Linked DNA regions of Homo sapiens: region 2 is linked to region 1. The links are contacts of gene promoters, found by promoter capture Hi-C in human tissues and cell types (Jung and others, 2019). All regions are on one chromosome and are shown on one strand. Each heading gives the region's core, a stretch centred on a gene start or on the middle of the fragment in contact. The rest is flanking DNA. Distances are from core to core; before and after follow the strand shown.

Region 1 (6,258 bases), core at 1,077-3,576:
TCGCCTGGAAGCTTGTTAAAAATTCAGCATCTCAGGTCCTACTGCAGATCTGCTGAACCAGAATATGCACTTTAGCAAAATTTCTAAGTCAGTCCTGTGCATATTGAGTCTAAGAAATGGACTTAGAATGAAGACAATGCAAGTCTCAAGTGCGATAGGAGGATTGAGATCACCTCTGACAGGTGCTACATTGCTTCCCCCACACATTCACACATACACGTGCATACACACATATACAACGCACACACACTTTTCACTTACTTGCTTCTGAGGTGTCAGTGGCTGCAGTTGTGATGAACCAAGAGGCCACCACCACCATCAGCATCCAAGTCAGAGATGGCTGCCCCATCCTTTCTGCTCTTCCCGCTACTTCAGGTCTAGATAGCACCTGCCCAAAGGAAAGACGGGTTGGCCCTTTGAATTTTTCTCTCTGTCTCTGATGTCTGGTGTCCTGTGAACAGAGATGGATGGGACAAATGCATGATCTAACTCTCCTCCCCACAGCTGGAAGGAGTGCTTTGATTGTATAGTATACAACTCCAGGAGGTGTCACTTATATGGACTAAAAAATTGCATAACACTGCAGCCCTTGTTTTGCTGGGACTTTACCCCTTGTACTCCCCCTCCTTACCTCACCAACATCCCAGTCTTGGCTCCCCAATTCTCAGCACATTGCACATTTTGAAGAACTCAGTCATTTGGAGCAGGAAGTAGCCAGATGGAATAGTGTTCTGGACTCACCACTTTACTGAAGGCAGCTTTGGATTTTAACTGATCCTCTGCCTGGAAACTTTCAATTTGCCTGGATCACTTATTCATTCAACAAACATCTATTGAGTAGCTACATTGTGCCAAACAGGGAGCTAGTCACCATGGAGAACAATGAACATGGCAGTCTGCTCCTTCATGCAACTCACATATCGTAAAGAAGTGGCTTGAGACGAGCAACTTGAGAGGTAATTAACCTTCACAATGCATTTAAATGTTTCTGGAGTGGTCACTTACTATTTCTTCCAATTGGAAAAATAGTCCAGGGTGGATGCCAGTATTACCCCAGTGTTTATAGCAGCAAAATAGGGTGGCATGTTGGTTAAGTATGTAGGAGCTGCAGCCTGCACCTGAGGTTCAAATCCCTGCTTTACTGATCACTAACACTGTGATGTGGGTATTTCAGTTTACTAAGTCTCCGTTTTTGTCTGTGAAATGGAGATTGTTGCTTTCACAAACTGAATATCTATGATGGGCCAGGCTCAGTTCAAAGACATTCATGTGCTCAAAGGCATTGGGTCCTAGAGCAACGTTTTCCAGATCTTCGTGACCATGATGTACTAAAAGAAAAACATTTTATGTTGCCAGGTGCAGTGGCTCATGCCTGTAATCCCAACACTTTGGGAGACTGAGGGGGTGGATCACAAGGTCAGGAGTTTGAGACCAGCCTGGCCAGCATGGTGAAACCCCATCTCTAATAAAAATACAAAAATTAGCCGGGCATGGTGGTGGGCGCCTGTAATCCCAGCTACTCGGGAGGCTGAGACAGGAGGATTGCTTGAACCTGGGAGGCAGAGGTTGCAGTGAGCTGAGATCGTGCCACTGCACTCCTGCCTGGGTGACAGAGAGTCCATCCCCCCCCCCCAAAAAAAAAAAGACAGAAAGAAAGAAAAACATTTTATGTCATGATCTAGTGCAGTCGCTTCTGCATGTATGTGCACACACACATAAAATTTTATAAGACAATTGATATCCTTACTACATTAAGTGATTTAATTCTTACCACAACCCTATGAGATAAGTATTATCCTAGTTTGCAGATGAGAAAACAGGGGGACAAAGAGGCTAACTGCTTGCCTCAAATTTGTATTGCTTACTGACATATTCTATTATATTTAATTAAAAGAAGTCCCTGGATATAACCCACAAAAGGAATGATTTTATGACCCGCTAATAAGATGCGACCTAAAACACTGCATATTGTCACTGGGATTAACTAAGATGACATATGTCGAGCAGGGCCCAGCACATAGCAAGTTGTTCATTGTTGTAACCCTGGTACCTGGCACATAATAGGTGCATAACTAATATTCATGGAATAAGTCAAAAAATAGTAGTCATTGTTACTAGGACAGAGAGGATCAAAGAGAGGAAAACTAACTTACTAAAGATCATGAAGCCAATAATTGGCAGAATAATGACTCAAATCCAGGTCTGACCCCAGTGTCCAAGGTCTTAATTTCCTCTCCTACCTCCCTCAAATAGGATGGGGAGAAGCTGGGCTAGGAGAAGACAGCTACAGATAGCCTTACCTGAAGCCAGAAAGGTAGAGTTAGTCTGGTCATGATGTGCCTCATACTTATATATACACATTTGCCCCAGGCTGGCAATCTCTCCTCCAATTAGTCTCTAGTTCTGTTTTTTGATATTGTTTTCTTGGGGGTGGAATATTTTTTCCTCCTGGCATAATGTTTGCCTTGTCCAAGCTGTGAGGTTGTTGTTGTTCTTTTTCCTAATAGCTAGAGACCCCAAATGATTGACATTGGGGGGTCACACCTGTGCCCGGAAATACAAGGTCACTGTTTCGCACCTTCTAACAGCAAGAGATTCCATAGTTAGAAATTAACTGGGAAAGCAGTGCCAAGGTGCTGGGCTTCTTCTTGGTCACTGACAAGGGCAGGGTGGGATCAAGGAGCCAGGCAGAAGCCAGTATCTGAAGCCAGGCTGCATAAGGACAAAAGGGATATTCACTGCCCCAGATGGGAGGTGCACCTGTCTTGGAGAGGGCACCCTTCTGAAACACCCATTCTCATGAGATCAGCCTTAGAATCCAGACACAAGCAAGAGAGGAGCTGAGAATGGCTGAAAGTCAGAACCAGAAGGTAGTTCAGACATCACTGGACCTGACCCACTCTGTACAACAAAGAATCAGGTCTGATGACTGGGAGGTCCCTTTGGAGGCGAAATAAATTTGCACTTAAATAGACTGACTTTGGAGTCAGTCTGCCTCCTTTATCTGGTGTTTATTGTGTGGCAGTGGGCTCATTTCTTAACCTTCCTGAGGTCCAGAGGTCAATTTCCTTGTCTATAAAATGAGAATACCCATCTCCCACAGTAGTAATAGTAACCAAAGGAGATGATGCAAGTAAAGTCATATAGTAATGATTATATTCATGGAAGTAGTGAAAATTCTGCTTTGCTGTTGTGCAATCACTGAGGTAGAAAATGACAGAGCCTGAGTTAAAACCATGTCTTCAGACCCAGTTCAACATACATGACATTCCAAAAGTCAGTGTGAGAGTGGCTGTCATCATGTTGAGAAAAATAAAATATGTGTGAACTTGGGCTGAGCAGGAAAATATCACCATGATCACTGCATTGATCTTTTTTTTTTTTATACTTTAAGTTTTAGGGTACAAGTGCACAACGTGCAGGTTTGTTACATATGTATACATGTGCCATGTTGATGTGCTGCACCCATTAACTTGTCATTTACATTAGGTATAACTCCTAATGCTATCCCTCCCCGCTCCCCGCATCCCACAATAGGCCCCTGGGTGTGATGTTCCCCTTCCTGTGTCCAAGTGCTCTCATTGTTCAATTCCCACCTGTGAGTGAGAACATGCGGTGTTTGGTTTTTTGTCCTTGCGATAGTTTGCTGAGAATGATGGTTTCCATCTTCATCCATGTCCCTACAAAGGACATGAACTCATATTTTTTATGGCTGCATAGTATTCCACGGTGTATATGTGCCACATTTTCTTAATCCAGTCTATCATTGATGGACATTTGAGTTGGTTCCAAGTCTTTGCTATTGTGAATTGCTCTTTTCAGGACATTTCTCCATCCTGTCCCACTCAGTGGTAGGGTAACCACTGGCACTGGTGTTGTCATCTCCTCAGGATTATGTCCAAGGAGTGGAAATTCTGGGTCAAAGAGGTAGCACAGCTGTAGGAATATTGACTCCTCTTCCCAAACAGCACCCCAGAGAATTATTATAAATTGGTTTACAATCCCACCAACACTACTCACCAGTTCTGAGCATTGGTAACTTGCTTTCATCTTTGCCAAAAGGATAAGTGGAAACGATCTCATTATTGTTCATTTTTGCAATTCTTTGATGAAAAGGGAAGTTATCTCTTCATTTATTTACTTTTTTTTTTCTGAACTAGTCGTTTTTATCCTATACCTTTTTCATGAGGCCTTGTCTAAACCTTATTATGGGTGTCTTCAAAGGATTAAAGACAGTGACCCCAGGTGGCTTCTGGAGTTTTCTTGACAAAGACTTGGGCAGGAAAATGGGGAGTTTGGGTTGGAATCTATTCATAAGTGTAATCACCATGCTTTCTAGTTTCTGTATTTGGTGCTTGTACATTTTGGGGCCTTACTGATCATGGAGGGACTGCCCCTCCCAGGGCTCAATAATTACTAGAGATCAAAAACGACTTATCTGTGAATGTGCCTTTCCGACTGCAAATCAATCAATCCAGACCACATACCCCCAACCCTTGGCCTCCTTTTTGGGGCTTTTACACTTAGGGTCACTACTTGCTGCTTTAGATCACCCCAAGGGACCAGGTACCAGACAACTAGAGACAACTCCTATGGCCCAGAGGTCTCTGAAATTATTCAAACTAAGCCAATCCTAAATCTGCTTACCTTGCCTCTCCCATTCCTTCCTGCAGAAACTACAATAAAGGCTCTTTCCTGCCTTTTCCCTTGCTCTCTTTGCTTCCTGACCGACCCTGGTACTTCCCAGCAGCTCTTCCTCTCCCTTCAGCCCCTCTGCCCAGTGTGGTGTGTCCCCTTCTCTTGGGATCTGTGAGTATAACAAGTTGTCAGTGGCCATAATTTCCTGCTCTGTTGCTCATCAAGTTCACCAAAGACATCCATGTTACCAAATTCAATCAATATTTTTCTCTTTATCTTACCTCTAGGACAGTGCACAATAAATATTTGTTTTTGAACGAACCTTAATCTCTCAGCACTTCGCTCTTGAAACACTCTTCTTTCTTTCTTTCTTTTTCTTCTTCTTTTTTTTTTTTTTAATGGAGTCTTGCTCTGTCACCCAGGTTGGAGTGCAGTGGCTCAGTCTTGGCTCACTGCAACCTCCACCTCCCAAGTTCAAGTGATTCTCTTGAATCCTTGAATCCTCAGCCTCCCGAGTAGCTGGGATTACAGGTGCATACCACCATGCCCGGCTAATTTGTGTTTTTTTTGTACACATTGGCCAGGCTGGTCTCGAACTCCTGACCTCAGGTAATCTGCCTGCCTCGGCCTCCCAAAGTGCTGGGATTACAGACATGAGCCACCACAACCAGCCTGAAACACTTTTCTCTCTTAACTTTCAAACATGGGTAGGAGACTTGATCTTAATAATGCTGAGAACAATCACCCACTGAGCACTTCTCTTGGGTCAGACACTGTGCTCAGTGCTTTTGCCTCCATTGTCTCAAACAATGAAACACAACAACCCACGTCACAGGGAAGAAGACAAGTTCAGAGAGGTGGAGTAACTCCCCCAAGATTACACAGCTAGCGAGTGTTAAATCCAGACTAAAACTCAAATCTCACTCAGATTTACCTGCATTCCTTGGGTTACAGAACATTCCATGCTCAGCCATGACAGGGTCTTAGAAGGATAAGTGGTTTTAGGTAGTTTTGGAAAGAGTGAAACTAAAGGGTGGAGAGTTTTGAAAAATTGATCAAACAGAACACAAAAACTTAGAATGAGAGGTTGGTGTGTGTCAGAAAGCGGCAAAAAATGAGCCAAGGGAGAAGATCCCCCAAAAGAGGGGTATTACCTGTCCCACCTACCTCTCTGAGCACACACCTCCTGAGGCTCCAGTTACGCCTGGGGGACCTGGAGGTGGCACACCCATTCTCTGGCTCGTGGCCTGTCAGGGGCTCTATGCCACATGATCTAGTCTAGGCAGCCCCCCGTAACCCTCCTTCAACTGGCAGCCACATGACCTCAAGGCCGAGGCAGGTGAGCCTTACACCGTGTCCTGAATACTAACACCTGCTCCTGTTGGGGAATTCGGCTCAGGTGAGTTCCAGAGCCGCAGGCTGTTCCCTGCTTCCTCTGGTTGTGGACAGGCCAGGTTCAGGGTGAGGGGCATGGGAGCTGTCTCTGGAGGTATGAGAAAGCACAAATAGCCTTTGCCTTACATGACAGGTGAGGAGTGGAGAGACCCAGGTGGTTTCTAGAGACCTCAATTTCTAAAAGAATGCTGCCCTTCTTTTCTCAAGAGAAGGCCTGGCTGAAAT
Region 2 (6,911 bases), core at 4,148-6,647, 53 kb before region 1:
TAAAAGCCCCTCAGGTGATGCTAATACAGATCCAGAATTCAGTAGCTCCAGGCTGGGTGTTTTAGAAGTATTAACTCATTTAATCTCCATGACAACTCTATGAAGTCAGTGCCAAGGCTCAGACTCAAAGATCACACAGCAAGAAGTTATAAGGTTGAATCAAGGCAAATCAAACTCCAGAATGCTCTCTTTTAACCACTAGGCTGCAGATGGAGAGGAGGGTGTTTGGGGGCAAAAAAAAGACAGCAAAATGGAGAAGGTGCAAGTAATAGGTGTCAGATGGCAGCTGCTCTGATAGTCGGTTTTGTGTCCGCATCTTCTTTGTCTGGCACCAGGTCTGGGTGCAATAGTCTCACAAGCACCTCATGCATGTCCTTGTAGCCATCAGGACTTAAACCATCTTGTTCCTATCCCCAGCTTCACTGAGTTGGGCACTCAAATTTAAATGTATGTATGAGTCATCTGGGGATTGTATCAAAATGCAGATTCTGATTGAGTAGGTCCAGAATGGGGCCTGAGACTATGCATTTCCAAGAAACTCCTAGGTGAAGTCAGTGCTGCTAATCTGCAGACCACACTCAGTAGAAGTGAATAAAAATGCAAGTATAATGCACCTATTCTGTCTGTGGGAGCCCGTGCATTCTTTTTTTTTTTTTTTTTTTTTGAGACAAAGTCTCGCTCTGTCACCCAGGCTGGAGTGTGGTGGTGCCATCTCGGCTCACTGCAAGCTCCGCCTCCTGGGTTCATGCCATTCTCCTGCCTCAGCCTCCCGAGTAGCTGGGACTACAGGCACCTGCCACCACGCCCGGCTAATTTTTTTTGTATTTTTAGTAGAGACGGGGTTTCACCATGTTAGCCAGGATGGTCTCTATCTCCTGACCTCTTGATCCTCCTGCCTCAGCCTCCCAAAATGCTGGGATTGCAGTTGTGAGCCACTGCGCCCGGCCGTCTGTGCATTCTTGAACCTGGAGAGAGCTCCCTTCTTTCTGACCCAGGAGTGACTTCTGCACCTTCTGCATTTCGGAGAAGCCTCACCAGGCTGCAGAAATAACCTGCTTTATTTGTGCTTCCCTTAGCGGATACTACAGTATTATCTCAGTAGTGGTTTGCAAATTTTAGCTTGCATGGGAATCATCTGGAAAGCTTCTGAAAAATGGAGATTGCTGGACCCCATCCCAGAGTTTCTGATTCAGTAGGTCTGCATGAGGCTTGCAAATTTGCATGTCTACCGAGTTCCCAGGTAATGCTGATGCTGCTGTTCTGGGGACCACAATTTAAGAACACTTGTATCGGCTGGGCACGGTGGCTCACGCCTGTAATCCCAGCACTTTGGGAGGCCAAGGCACGTGGATCATGAGGTCAGGAGATCGAGACCATCCTGGCTAACACAGTGAAATCCTGTCTCTACTAAAAATACAAAAAATTAGCCGGTCATGGTGGTGGGCGCCTGTAGTCCCAGCTACTCGGGAGGCTGAGGCAGGAGAATGGCGTGAACCCGGGAGGCGGAGCTTGCAGTGAGCGGAGATTGCGCCACTGCACTCCAGCATGGGCGATAGAGTGAGACTCCATCTCAAAAAAAAAAAAGAACACTTGCATTACAGGAATGTCTCCAGGACAGCATTTCCTTAACCATGTCCATTTGGTTAGACACACTAGCTTTCTTGCCGTCCCAATGAAAGGTATGGAGTCCCTAGCTTCAAGTCCTGGCTGTGCCACTAATTCCATTAGTGAACATAACAGCTATGGATTGAGTTGGCTGCATATAAGCGGAAAACCCAAATAACAATGACTTATTCAAGAGATTTATTTTTGTTTCACGTGAGATAAAATGCAGAGGTAGGTGATCCAGGGTAATTGTGGTAGGTCCAAGATGTCAGCAATATTCCAGATTTTTAACTTTCTGGTCTACTGCCTTTAATTTGTGGCTTTCATCATCAAGACTGCCTCATAGGCATAGAATGGACAACTCTGACCTTTGTGCTTGAATTCTAGAAAAAGAAAGGGGGAAAAAGCAAAGGTTTAGACCAAGCTTGTCTAACCCATGGGCTGCATGCAGCCTGACAGCTTTGAATGTGGCCCATCACAAATTCATAAACTTTCTTAAAACATTATGAGATTTTTTTAGGATTGTTTTCTCTTAGCTCATTAGTTATTGTTAGTGTTAATGTATTTTACGTGTGGCCCAAGACAATTCTTCTTCCACTGTGGCCCAGGGAAGCCAAAAGATTGGACACTCTGGTTTAGACCTTCTTTTAAGGGGATTTTTCTGGAAGCCACACTTATATCTCCACTCTTACTTACATGTCATTAGCCAGAACTTAGTCCATGACCACCTTTCTCTCACAGGGAGGCTGGGAAATGTAGTTTTTCTAATTGAGCATATGACCACCACCAACAAAATTTGGGTTCTGATTATAAGTATCTATTCTTTACTACTAGTTAGAATGAAGAAGAGAATGGCTGTTGCTAATTCTAACTACTAGTAACAAGTAGTTCCTACCACAATGACCCTGGGCAAGTGTCTTCCACTTTTGGGCTCTATCTCTCCCAATGTAAAATAAAGTTGGTCTTAATGATCAAAGAGATCCTATCCAACTATAAGGCAGTTCGATTCCATGGTTCTGTCCCTAAATATGTTTATCAGTGATGCTCAGTGGAAAGGAAAACAACCTGGGTATTGTCCTCATGCAGTACCCCTAGTGTGCTCAGCCTGATGAGATGTCAGAACATATCCTGTACTTGTCTGTCTATTCATCCATCTACCTGTTAAAAATACATTTTTTTTGAGATGGAGTTTCACTTTTGTTGCCCAAGCTGGAGGGCAATGGCATGATCTCGGCTCACTGCAACTTCTGCCTCCTGGGTTCAAGCGATTCTCTTGTCTCAGCTTGTGGGTAGCTGGGATTACAGGCGCCCACTACCACGCCTGGCTATTTTTTTTTTGTATTTTTAGTAGAGACAGGGTTTCACCATGTTGGCCAGGCTGGTCTCAAACTCCTGACTTCAGGTGATCCACCTGCCTCCACCTCCCAAAGTGCTGGGAATATAGGCATGAGCCACCGCACCAGGCCCCTGTTAAAAATATTTCTGAGTACTACTACCTGATAAGTACTAAGGATACAGCTGTGAGTTTAAGCAGACATTGTCCCTGCTCTCCCTGTCCTCTTAGCAGTTTAGTAGGTAAGACAGATATAAACAAATAATGATGCAAATGTTCAACAAAGTGCTATAATGAATGTTGATGTACTACACAAGCGTTATAAAGAAAATGTATGTTGGGGGGTGTAATTTAGGTGGGGTGGAAAAGAAGATTTTCCCAAGAATTTATTTTGAAGCTGACACCTGAAGGAGGGGTCAGACATGCAAAGAGTCAGAGAAAGTGCACTCTAGGCAGAGAGAACAGCAAGTTCAGACACAGGCCCTGAGGCAGGAAAGAGCTGGGCTCATTCTAGGAAATGAAGGATGGCCAGGGTGTCCAGACATCATCAGTGAGGGGGAGGCTGATATGTAATGAGGCTGGAGTAGTCAGTGGATACCACAGCTTGCAGGGCCATGTAAGCTCTGGGAGGGAAATTTGATTTTATTCTAAGGGTAGTGGGAAGGCATTGGCGTGTTTCAGGCAGAGGTGGGGGCAAGGGTGACATGATGAGATGTGCATCTTCACAAAGATTTCTCTAGATGCTGAATAGGACCTGAACAGGTTTGGATGGGGGTGGTAGTGAGCAGTGGTCACATTGAGAGTTGTATGGGTTTCACCCATCCATTCACTCATCCATCAACCTATTCATCCACCCATCCATCTTTTCATCCATTTATCTTTTCACCCATCCACCCATCCATCCATCCACCCACTCATCCATCCATTGAACCATCCACCTATCCATCCATCCATCCATCCATCTGTCCGTCCATCTGTCCATCCATCCGTCCATCCATCCATCCATCCATCCATCCATCCATCCATCCATCCGTCTGTCCGTCCATCTGTCCATCTGTCCATCCATCCATCCATCCATCTATTCATCCGTCAATCTACCCATTCATTCATTCAACCATTCACCTATCCATCTATCCATCTACCCATTCATCCTTTCATCCATCCATCCAACCATCATCCACCTACCCATTCAACAAACATTCATAAAGCATCTTTAACTGCCAGCTTCTCCACTACATGTGTTGGGTGAATAAGATGGTTCATTTTCTCAAGGAGTTTACCAGTTAGAAAGGTAGAGAGACACACATAAACAAACCATCATGGTTGAGTGCAGGTCCTAACAGCAGTAAGCTCTAAGAAGGGTGGGAAGAGATTCTTAGCAGTGGTGAACTGTTTGCCTAGTGCCAATGGCAGGTGAAAAGCCACCATGTGATTCACCGCTCTGGCTGCCAAGAGTGAGGACTTTTCTGGGTCACAGGGAAATAAACACATTTTAGGGCAACAGCAAGACAAGGGGAAGTAACAGCCTTGGAATTTAGCTTGGGGTTAAACAAAAAAATCTTGGGAGATGCTAGGATGTAGACACATCCAGAATGGATGGAATTATCCCATGAATCTATTCTATGGTGTCCTCAGCATGAGTTTGAAGATTCCTTGTTGGCATCTCATTGATTTATTGGCTGGATTCTGGCAGCTGTTGGTGAGAGCAAGATTGACTGCTCCAGGCATGAAACAAACCATAGAGGAACAAGTTCAAACTCTTTTCAGCTGTATGCAAACAACTTAACCTCTCTGAGCCTTAGCTGCTTCAACTCTAAAATGGTAAATAGCATTGAGCTTGAGAAACCCTGGAATAAGATGGCTGAAGCCTAAGTTCAGTAACTGGTTCATTGTTAGTGGACCTGAGAAACTGACAGGATAGATGCAGCTAGGGTTGAAAAGGCACATAATATAATGGTTAACGGTGTGGACAGTGGAACCTTGCCTCCTAGATTCAAATCTTCCAATTTTCTCTTCTTTCTGTTCCACTTGCATCTGTAAACCATGTGCCCAGTCATGGCCCCACAGCTGGGCAACGCCATTATGTACTCCTTTGACCACGGCTCCAAGACCTTCAGAGCATCTTGTGAGGCTCTTCTCTCCAGCAGATGAAGGGTTATTATCCTCCCTTAGATTTGGTAACTGAGGCCCAAAGGAATCAAGAACTTTGGCCAAGCACGAGTCCCCATTTTACAAAGGGAGAAACAGCCTCAGAGAGTTTCAGTAATGAATGCAAGTCCACAATGCTAGTAAGTGAATGAGCTGGGATTTGAACCCAGACCTATCTAGCTCCAGAATCCTTCTTTCATGGAGTTCAAGTCTACCAGAAGGAGGGGAGGAATTGAAACAGATGATAGATAAGTAGATGAGTAAGTAAGTCTAACGATTATAAAAATAATTATAAGATCTGCGAAGAAAGTAAACTGGCTGGTGTGATAGAGAGGAAATGGGAGAAGAGCAATCTTTTTCAATCGGGAGATCAGGGAAAGACTCCCAGAAGGGAGGTAATAAACCCTAAAACCATTCTTGGTAATGCATGTAGTGCATGCAGTATGATATTTGGCACCTAGAAAGTTCCAATAATTGGTAGTCATTATTAAGGAAAGTGAAATGCTTTCTCAAAGATAATTGTAAAATCAAAGGGATAGTGTGTGTTTTGTCCTACTTCCAACATCTAGAGCCTTTCTCTCATGGAATAGGAGGGAGGAGAAAACTGAGGGCAGTGATAGGCTTGGCAAACAGGGGCCTTGGCCGGCTCAAAGCTTCAGCACCTGGGGCCAGCTGCCTCATTCAGTGCTTGGCAACGCCCCCGCAGAGTGGAGAATGCCAAGAGGGTAAGTGTCATCTCCGCTCTCCACGCAGTAGCTGTGTGACCTTGGGCAAGTCACATCTCCTGTCTGGGCATCTGTTTGTTCATCTGTAAAATGAAGGTTTCGGTCTAGATGGGTTTTTCAGATCCCTTCCAGCTCTAATTCTGTGTCATCTGAACTCTGACCAACGCCTCCCTCCTTCCGCGGACGTGTTCCCACAGTGCCCTCTATTGGCTGTTTAGTAGAGAGCAGGTACCACACATGCAGCTCCGGGGACCGGGAGAAATGGGAACTGCCAGCTGCCCTTCTTCTGTGAGGGATTTAGAACCCTTGGGGCACATCAGGATCCGCACACAGGATAAGAGTTAGGCAGTCTGACTTCCTAGAGTCACAGAATTTTGGAAAGGGAGACTTAAAGACTATTTATTGCAACAACAGCAGTATTAGCTAACATTTGTTTAGGGCTAACCATTTACTGAACATGGGCTTGATACTGTGCATAAAGTCATGAGTATAACAGGCACAGGGCCGTCCTGAGGGTAGTAACGTGTACACGGAGACCCAAAGAGTGAGGACTTGCCCATGTGAAGATCAGCTGGAAAGACTGTAACAGCCAAGAGAATAGCATGTGCAAAGGTCCTGGAGGAGAAAAAGACAAGGGTGTGTTTGGAACCAAAGGAAGTAGAGTCAATTGTTACTAGATACTGGAGGCTAAAGAATCTTGGAATGTGAAAACCATGATGACTGGTGGAGTTACAATCACTTTGTAAAACTGCTTAGCAGTATTTACCAAAGCTGAATATATACACTTCAGGAAGATGAGCTTATGCGCTCACCAAAAAGGCATAAATAAGAAAGCAGCATGCTTACCAGTAGCTGAAAGCTGGAAATAGCCCACATGTCCATCAACAGTAGAATGGATCAATAAATTAGGCTTTATTCTTCCAATAGAATCATGTCAGCAATCAGAATGAGATCCAAGTATAATTAAACTCAACAATATGGATCAGGTTCACAAAGAGAATGTTGCACATGTTAGTAAGAAACTGAGTTCAAATGATATATATTCCTTTTATATAAAGTTCAAAACCACCGTATGGTGCTAGAAGTCAGGATAGCGGTTG

Evidence for each region. The method cuts DNA at HindIII sites, captures the fragments that hold promoters and counts their contacts. A contact is called where the count stands out against the background at its distance.
Region 2: a fragment that was not itself captured here is called in contact with the fragment with the promoter of UMOD in region 1 in 6 of the 25 tissues and cell types used here (adrenal gland, bladder, dorsolateral prefrontal cortex and 3 more).

What each region holds. Positions count from the first base shown.
Region 1 is chr16:20,350,389-20,356,646 of GRCh38, forward strand. UMOD (uromodulin) reads right to left here and starts at 2,327. Exons shown (of 11, transcript NM_003361.4): 1 at 2,301-2,327; 2 at 262-451. The coding sequence starts at 349. The HindIII fragment of the contact is 15,409 bases long and covers 1-6,258 here.
Region 2 is chr16:20,294,637-20,301,547 of GRCh38, forward strand. No RefSeq gene overlaps it. Among named protein-coding and RNA genes, the nearest start is that of GP2, 29 kb to the right of the region's middle. The HindIII fragment of the contact is 7,623 bases long and covers 1,587-6,911 here.